2 separate regions of the Homo sapiens genome follow, and region 2 is linked to region 1. Evidence: promoter capture Hi-C in human tissues and cell types (Jung and others, 2019). All regions are on one chromosome and are shown on one strand. The core of a region is centred on a gene start or on the middle of the fragment in contact, and the rest is flanking DNA. Distances in the headings are between cores, read along the strand shown.

Evidence for each region. The method cuts DNA at HindIII sites, captures the fragments that hold promoters and counts their contacts. A contact is called where the count stands out against the background at its distance.
Region 2: a contact is called between a fragment that was not itself captured here and the fragment with the promoter of KY in region 1, in 1 of the 25 tissues and cell types used here (dorsolateral prefrontal cortex).

What each region holds. Positions count from the first base shown.
Region 1 is chr3:134,648,462-134,652,840 of GRCh38, forward strand. KY (kyphoscoliosis peptidase) reads right to left here and starts at 2,561. Exons shown (of 11, transcript NM_178554.6): 1 at 2,364-2,561. The coding sequence starts at 2,499. It also overlaps a transcript of CEP63 not described here. The HindIII fragment of the contact is 13,352 bases long and covers 1-4,379 here.
Region 2 is chr3:136,615,342-136,619,720 of GRCh38, forward strand. The region is part of intron 3 of STAG1 (STAG1 cohesin complex component); the gene reads right to left. Among named protein-coding and RNA genes, the nearest start is that of STAG1, 130 kb to the right of the region's middle. The HindIII fragment of the contact is 6,695 bases long and covers 1-4,379 here.

The DNA of each region.
Region 1 (4,379 bases), core at 1,311-3,810:
CTCATTGGGTCTTGCCCCAGGCAGCTATAGGCTATATCCTCTACTGCTGCAGGAGTATATGCACTCTACTTTCTGATAGGAGTTGAGGGCTTTCAGGCACGTTTTGGAGAAGCACTGTTCTAGGGAAATGACTGGGAGGCTGCTAGGGCCTTACAGAAATGGGAGAGAACATCTGCTGGCTCTGCAGCCCAAATTCCTAGTGACCTAGCCTGTCCACACTCTCCTTGCCTTCTTGTCCCCCTGACTCTTTTCTTCCAGCAGAAGGGCCACTTCCAGCAGAAGGCCCTTCCAGCAGAAGGGCCACTCGTTACGGATTACTCCATCCTCTGCATTGCAACAATAATTGAGCTTTGATCTTTTCTGACATGGAGCCTAGGCCCTCTTTTATATAACCAAGGAAGATCCACTCTCCAGTGGAGGATCTGGAGTGTGGAGGAGAAAGGAGGAGATACCTGGAAGTGAGCAAGAGTTTGTTTTATATCTTGCACCCATGGGAGGCTTTGGAACAAGCTGGTCTTATTGGGCATTTTCCTCCCTTAGGCTGTTTTTCGAGGAAAGGGTCTGCAGGCTGGCTTTGCCTGGGGTCTCCTGAATATCATCTCTGCCCACCAGGCATCAAAAGCCATGCACTTTTCCTCTTCTCTGCTCTGGTTGTGAATAAGTGACACAGATCTCTACACTGTCATTCATAGCATCGGTGAGAAACGGCCATCAGAAAAATATTTGGAGAAAAAGTTCAGCAGAAAGGGCCCAGCCATTAGGGGTCTTTTTTTCTCTGTCATAGTCACTAGTGTGCATACATGAGTCTGGAGCCATGGCGAGTTTGTGCTAGGTGTTGGGCACCTCTCAGGGCAGTCCTGATGCCTGGTGTTTCCTGGGCTTCTCTGCATTCTTTGCCCTTTCTAGTGTCAGAGCCTTTAGAAGTGATGTGATCAGAGAGGATTGGGAGTAGGGGACTCGTGGGCTGACCTGGAACTAGGCCTCGCCACACACTGGAGAAGGCATTCTGGACTGTGGTACATGTATTCAGAGCAGTCTCATTTCTATCAAGAAGTTGATGCCCTCTGTTGACTTTCTAACTACAAATACCCTGGGCAGGCCATTTCCCCTTCTCCCAAGAGTAGGTCTGATAACTAAAGAGCCAACGAATCCAAACAACTCCTGCTTCAGTCAGGAATCAGCCCTGAGACTAGAGCGCCTGTCAACATACTCAGCCCTCTAGATTCTGTTTCTTTCCCCTGCCTGCCTTCCCAAGAGGTTCCCAGGGCTCTGGAGGCAGCTCCAGCCTATGTGGCTGGTAGTGGCAAGGCCATCCACAGCAGCATTACTTAAGCAAGGCAGGTGGAAGGTGGATGTTCAATGAGCACAGAGGCTCTGGGGACAGAAGAACCAAGGGCAGAGCAGCAGCAGGAATTCCAAGGAGCTCCAGAGCTGGAGGGGAGGAGAGAGGCAGAAGTCATTCTCCTGCATGGGCTGTCAGGCCTAACTCCTAAAGAACTGGCCCGCAGTCCGCCTAGTGCATCCTCACACCAGCCTCGGAGACAGCTTGCCATCCAGGACCCTGAGGTTCTCTGGCTTTTCAGGGGCTTATTTAACCTCCATTATCATCCCTCTGTACTCCATTCACATTGTGTTCTGTCGTCTGGAGAACAGAGAGGCCCGGATCCTGCTTTCCACAATCACTCTATAAACAGTCACTTTATTTTACCAATCTACAACTTACAAATTTACCCAGAAAGTGTGTAGGACAAGTAAAATTGATGGATAAGTTCAAGTGGAGACAGCAGGTTTCAAATCTTACCCTATCCAAACCTGCGTTCCTTTTACGCCTTTCATGCCTTCCATCTATAGGAGGCTGGGAGAAAGTCTCAAGAAAGGAGAAACTGAGGCTGTAAATTGTGCAAGGCCACACAGGGAGCTCCCCATCTAAAAGTCTGACTCAGCCCAAAGGTTTCCCAGCGTCCCCTGTGCCCTGCAGTGTGCTGTGGGGGGGAGCAGGCCTCTGCTACCCATGAGTCAGCCCTGAGGCTCTGGCCGCCTTCCTCCAGGGTATCTTCCAATCTTGCTCTACACCCGTTAGGGAGTGGCTGGGAGGAAAAAGACTCCCAGGGGTGACGGAAGCACCCACAGGCCTGCACAGGGAGTGAAACTGGGGCAATCACGGGGCTGCGCGTTGCCACGGGACTGCGCGTTGCCACGGGACGCCGGTGCCACTGCGGGGAAGCGACGGCAGCCATGGGGGAGAGGGTCGGGTTCGCTGACCTCGTTCGGGGGAGCAATGGGCGCCCCCCGGCGGGCAGGCCCTTGTGGCAAGGAGGCCAAGGTGCCGGGGGACCCGGGGACCCGGGTCGGGCGCGCGTTACCTCCTCCGCGCTGCAGCAGCGAGCTCGGGTTCGCCTGCTGGTCTGAGAGCGTACCCTGTGCGGCGCGCCGCTTCTCCGAGTGCACGATCAGCAGCATGTCGATAGATACAGCGTTGATGTCCTTCTTCAGCTCCATGATGCCGCCTCCTTTCCGACCTGGGCGCCGCGGCCGCACGCTAGGCTGCTTGCGCTGCAAATGGCCCCGTGCGCGCAGCTGCCCCACACGGGAGAGGGCGAGGGCGCGGAAGAGGGCGCTCCCCCGCCGCTGGAGCCGCAGGGCGCTGCTTTTCGCTGACTCTGCCAAACACGCCATTAGGGCCCGCCTGGGAGGGCGCTACCCTAATGAAGCGGCTCTAAGTCACCTTTGAAAGGAAATCCCCGGGCCCAAGCCTTGACCTGCACCGGGGCCATAGTCAGCAGGGGCGGCCGGTCCAGAGCCTCCCTCCCTGCGCCCCTGCCTCCCGCCCGGTGCACTTGAAGCGCTGGTCCTGGGCTCCAGGGCTTCTCTGGCTGAGCGCTGCCTCATCCCCACGGTCTCCGGAGGGTTCTCGAGAGGGCTGGAGCCGACCTCCCACGAGAAGCCCCTGGCAAATACAGAAATCGCACAGTGCTGTCAACATTGAGAGTAGATTCAGGAAAAGGAAAGACAGCAAAGGGGCTCCAGATTGAATTGCAAGATGTGCAGAGATTGTCCAAGTTTTGGCCTCGACCTCACTCCTTCCCTGGGTTGGTTTTGGAGGTTGACAGCTCTCTCTCCCTAGGAGGGAGTTGGGTGGGGTGTTGGAGTCAGGAGCTCCCCCCAGTTACGGCCCCTGTAGAACTTGGAACATGCCCATTGAGTATCAAGCTAACGATCCTCTTTGATCTGAAACGAAAGTCTTAAAGTCTCGGTTCGTTCTAGAAGCCTGGCTCCTGCCCTGTGGGGAAGGAGGGAGGGGGAGAGGAGGAGGCTGGGGCACAGGGAGCTGGACCTGAGAAGCCTTCTATTTTTAGCCCGGCCTGGCCTGCCCAGCCAACAGCAGCAGGGGTTTGGCTGTAGGTCTCAGGAGTGTTTACATAGGCTTCTGCCTGGTACCCCTGGGCACTACGGGCCCACCCTGCTGGGGGCGTTCCCCTAATTCGAGTTTCTACTGTTAATAAATGCACCCCCACATGGAGGCCTTTGCTCTGGGAGCCCTCCCCGCATTGGAGTGTATGGACCCCACCTTGTAGCATGGTCCTGAGAGTTCCCAGATCCTCCTTGGAGCAGCCTGTGTCACACAGACTGCATTCCAGTACCAGCTCCATCACTTCCTGGCTGTGTGACCTTGGACCAGCCATTTTCCCTCCACCTTCTCACCCTTATCACTGGGTTGATAAAAATTTCTCACATGGCTGTTGTGAGAATGGCATGAATGTAAGGCGCCTGGTGTATAGAAAGTGGTCTTCATATGGTAGCTGTCATTCTTACTTCATTTTAAGGGTGAGGAAAGGGAAAGATGGAGTGACAAGTGACTGATGGAGCAGAGAAGCAGGAGAGATGTCACAGCCACACTCTGAGATTCTGAAGGTCTTCCTCCAATAACAGTGGCTCAGAGTTTGGTTCCGTGTAAAGGCTGTTGTCTTATTGCATTACCAGCGCCCCCCCCCACCACCCCACCCCCTGACTCACCCACTGGGCATCTGATGGAAGGAGAGGTTGTTGGCTTCCAGTAATGTTGAACTGGAGTCCCTAGAGAGCTGAGGCCATAGACAGGCAAGTGGAGATGGCTGACTTCCAAGGCAGGTTTCCTTCTGCTAAAGTGAGTCTTGTCCTGTCTGTATGTGTGCAGGTACACACACACACACACACACGCGCGCGCGCACACCTGGGAGGCTGGCTAACACTTACTCTCTATGTGGCTGGGGAAGTAAGAACTATGCATTATGCAAAGCTCTTGGGGTGTTGGAGATTGCTGAGGCAGATCTCAGGTCCCAGAGTCCCCCCAACTACCCTGGGCCAGTCAGTGTTGTCTAACTCCTTCAAGTGTCAGGTTG
Region 2 (4,379 bases), core at 1,052-3,551, 2.0 Mb after region 1:
CACACTTTTTCATAAAATGGCATTGCCTGTGAGCTGAGATCGTGTCACTGCACTCCAGCCTGGGTGACAACAAGACTTTGTCCAAAAAAAAAAAAAAAAAAAAAAAAAAAGGAGTGGGGGCACTGCCTGCTTTTTGAATAAGAAAAAACATATTCGTGGCCGGTCGGTGGCTCACGCCTGTAATCCCAGCACTTTGGGAGGCCGAGGCAGGCAGATCACGAGGTCAGGAGATTGAGACCATCCTGGCTAACACGGTGAAACCCCATCTCTACTAAAAATACAAAAAATTATCCGGGCGTGATGGTGGGCACCTGTAGTCCCAGCTACTTGGGAGGCTGAGGCAGGGGAATGGTGTGAACCTGGGAGGCGGAGCTTGCAGTGAGCCAAGGTCGTGCCACTGCACTCCAGCCTGGGCAATAGAGCAAGACTCCAAATCAAAAAAAAAAAGAAAATGAAAAAAAAGAAAAAACATATTCCCACCCGGCACTATTAAAAAGGATGAAATAGAAAAAGACAAAGACCAAAGGTAGGAAGCTAACAGTACAGCTGCCAATAAAGTAAGCCCTAAAGATACAAACTTGGGAAATGTAAAATAAAGGACAGATGTGGAAGACACAGTGAGCTTATAAAGTAAAAGTCATCAGACGCTGGGCGCAGTGGCTCGCACCTGTAATCCCAGCACTTTGGGAGGCCAAGGCGGGTGGATCACGAGGTCAGGAGATCAAGACCATCCTGGTTAACACGGTGAAACCCCGTCTCTACTAAAAATACAAAAAAAGTAGCCAGGCATGGTGGTGGGCACCTGTCGTCCCAGCTACTCGGGAGGCTGAGGCAGGAGAATGGCATGAACCTGGGAGGCGGAACTTGCAGTGAGCCGAGATCGCGCCACTGCACTCCAGCCTGGGCGACAGAGCAAGACTCCGTCTCAAAAAAAAAAAAAAAGTCATCAGACCTCAAATTTCAATAGATAAAGGAGACAGGACAAGAGACTTGGAGATGAGGAAATGTAACAATGACTCAGGTCTTAATTCTGTGTTCTTGGAACTGTGGTAGTCTTTAACATAATTAAGGAAGTCAGAACTAAAAACTAGTCTAGTCAGTAGAAGAAAATTCTAAATGAAAAATTAAGAAAACAACAAAGACAGCTTAAAAAGAAGTCCAACTAATATACTTCCTAAAGTGATCACAAAAGAGTGCACATTTAAGCTCCAAAAAAATTTTTTATAGAGATCTTTGTTTCTTAGAAAAATAAAAATAGAAAAAGTAGTACAGAAAATTATAAATAGGCTGGGCCCAGTGCCTCATGCCTGTAATCCAGCACTTTAGGAGTCCTACTGGGCAGACTGCTTGAGCCGAGGAGTTTGAGACCAGCCTGGGCAACATGACGAAACCTTGCCTCTACAAAAACTTAGCCGGTGTGGTGATGCATGACTGTAGTCCCACTCCAAAGGCTGAGGTGGGAGAATCACTTGAACCTGGGAAATCGAATCTGTGGTGAGCTGTGATCATACCACCTTTATTCACAAATAATGAACAATATAGAAAGTACTGATTTAAACTTCACCACTTAAAAATTAGAAAAGACTTAACCATTATAAGCAGTAACATAGCATATACCCATATATTTTGCTGTGTGAAAGGCAATAATATATGTCAAAAGCTTTCAAAACAAACAGCATATACTAACAAACTTCACTTCTAGAAATTTAGGATTAAAAAAAACAATGGCTATACAGCAAAACTTACTTGCAAAACAGTTCATGTCAGCATGGTTTAGAATAGTTAAGAATTTTTAACATAAATGCTCAACATGGCACCAACTCTGCAATTGGTTTGTCAGTGTCCCACATTAACTCCCTGGGCCTGGTCATTCAGTTTCCAGCCTCTGCTGAGTCCCTCATACTATTCCAAGTGTAGCAGGGGAAATTGAGAGGCCCTTCCTCAAGCTCTGGTCTTAATGGAGGTACAAGGGAGACATCTACAGGGAACCATGAGATCATTGGTGTTGGAAATGCTAAGTCAGTCCTTCTTTAGGCTGGATGTTGGTAGTGGTCATCACAAAGTCCATATATTTTATATCCAGGCCTTCACCTGGCCTATGGACTTATACCCATGTGCCTGGTTTATCAGTTCAATGGTTCTTCAGCCCATTACAGATAAGGAGCTATACTGAAGATCAAGGAGGAACCACTGGAGTCTGAATGTTCCTGAAAGATTGACTTAGTCCTAGCTTAGTCCTCATAAAACCTGGTAACAACAGGGTTGGTACTTTTACTCTCTATTTTACAGGAGTTATAACAGATTGTTAAAGGACAACCAAGAAAGGACAAAAGAAGTGACAGTCAGAGGTTGAGAGGAGCCAGAAAAAATCTAGCAGACATCTGCCACCACATTGTAACATGGTGGTTCCTATCACAACGCTGGGTCAAAAAGAGATTGATTTGATTTATAATGCTAAACCAAGAGGGTGGGCAAATAAAAATTTTGGTATTTAAAAGAAAAAAAAACTTTGGAATTTGAATATTATGAAATTCCCAACAGTCTACATTAAACTACCAAATAATTTTAAAGATCCAATTTTTATAAGTGACCTGTTAACTTACCCTTCTGGTACTCATTAATCTTTTGTTGTGCATTCTCCATCTTCTATGTATGAATAGACATTTAAAAATAAAAACTGTATCTTTTTATTGTTAGATATGAGTTCTAAATTTCTTTTCAAAGAAAAGTATGTTCAATTCTTTGCCTTCTACTTTTAAACTTAACTTCCTCATAAAGCAACCTTTTCCAATTACCTGCTCCACCCTGACTCATTCCAATCACCTGCTCCACCCTGACTCATTCCGATCACCTGCTCTGTCATAACCATTTTTCCCACCAAACCACTCACCCCGTCACTCTCTTTAAATTAGCCAATCGGAATTAGTTTAGCCTGGGTGGTCTAACCCTAGCCAATAAGGGAATGACACAGCAGCAGGCGCCACATGCGTCAGGGATAAGAACCCCTTCCCCTCCCTTGTCCAAGTGTGCACTCACCATTGTTCCATCTGTAAGGGCGCACCCTTCTATAGAAGTACCTTGCCTTGCTGAGAATTAAAAGAACATTTTATATTCAAGTGCTATTTCTTTTGCAGCACTGAAACTTTATATACAACATTATTTACCTCTCCTACTCAGCCTATGCAAATATGAAAGTTAAATAATGTTGAGAATATAGAAGTGCTGGTTCTCACTAAGAGAAAAAAATCCATAATAAAACACGAGAGACTAAAGAGGGGTTAAGGTTAGAGAGGTGCTGATTTACATGACAACTACAAGCAACATAAAATCCTGGACTAGACCCTGATTCAGGAAAAGAATAGTTTTTCTTTTCTTTAAGGGATTAGATTATGACAACTGGCAAAATCTAAATGAGATGTATAGATATCATTCTTATATCAATATTATTTTCATATTTTCATAACTGTACTGTGGTTATGTAAGAAAAAATGTCCTTGACTGCAAAGAAATACACACTAAACTATTAGAAATAAAGTGCTGCGAAGAGATATTCTACAAAACAATACTGAATTTAAAAAAAAAGTAACATCATGTCTGCAACTTACTCCAAAACAGTTCAAAACTAATAGATACCAAAATACTTATCTCTGCATATGTCATAAAAAATCCATATTTACATGTGTATATGTGTGTACATACATAGAGGAGAAGACAGAAGCAAAGAGTGGGAATATGATAAAGCAAATGTAGTAAAATGCTAACATTAGGACAATGTGCATGAAGGACAGCTGACAATTCTTCATAGAATTCTTAGAATCCTTCTGTGTTGGAAATTATTTCAAAATGAAAAATTTTTTAAACACCAAAGGGCAGGGGGTGGGGCAGTGCTTATTTAACAAAATTAAAACACCATTCACTCATTAAACATTTACTGAACACTTACTGCAGGTCAGACACTAGTAAATAGCAGAAGACACACTAGATAAAAATTCCTGCCTTCACACAACTTACATTCCAGTTGTAGGAGAGAGACAATAAGCAAGTAAGTAAAATGTATGTTACGTTAGCGCAAGGGGAAAACAGTTAAGTCATATTGGGTAGAGGTGGCGATTTGCAATGTTAAACACATCTTTAGGCCTGGCGTGGTGGCTCACGCCTGTAATCCCAATACTTTGTGAGGCTGAGGCTGGTGGATCACTTCAGGTCGGGAGTTCAAGCCAGCCTGGCCAACATGGTGAAACCCTGTCTCTACTAAAAATACAAAGATTAGCCAGGTGTGGTGGCGCATGCCTGTAATCCCAGCTACTTGGAAGGCTGAGGTGGGAGAATTGCTTGAACCTGGGAGGCAGAGGTTGCAGTGAGCCAAGATCGTGCTACTA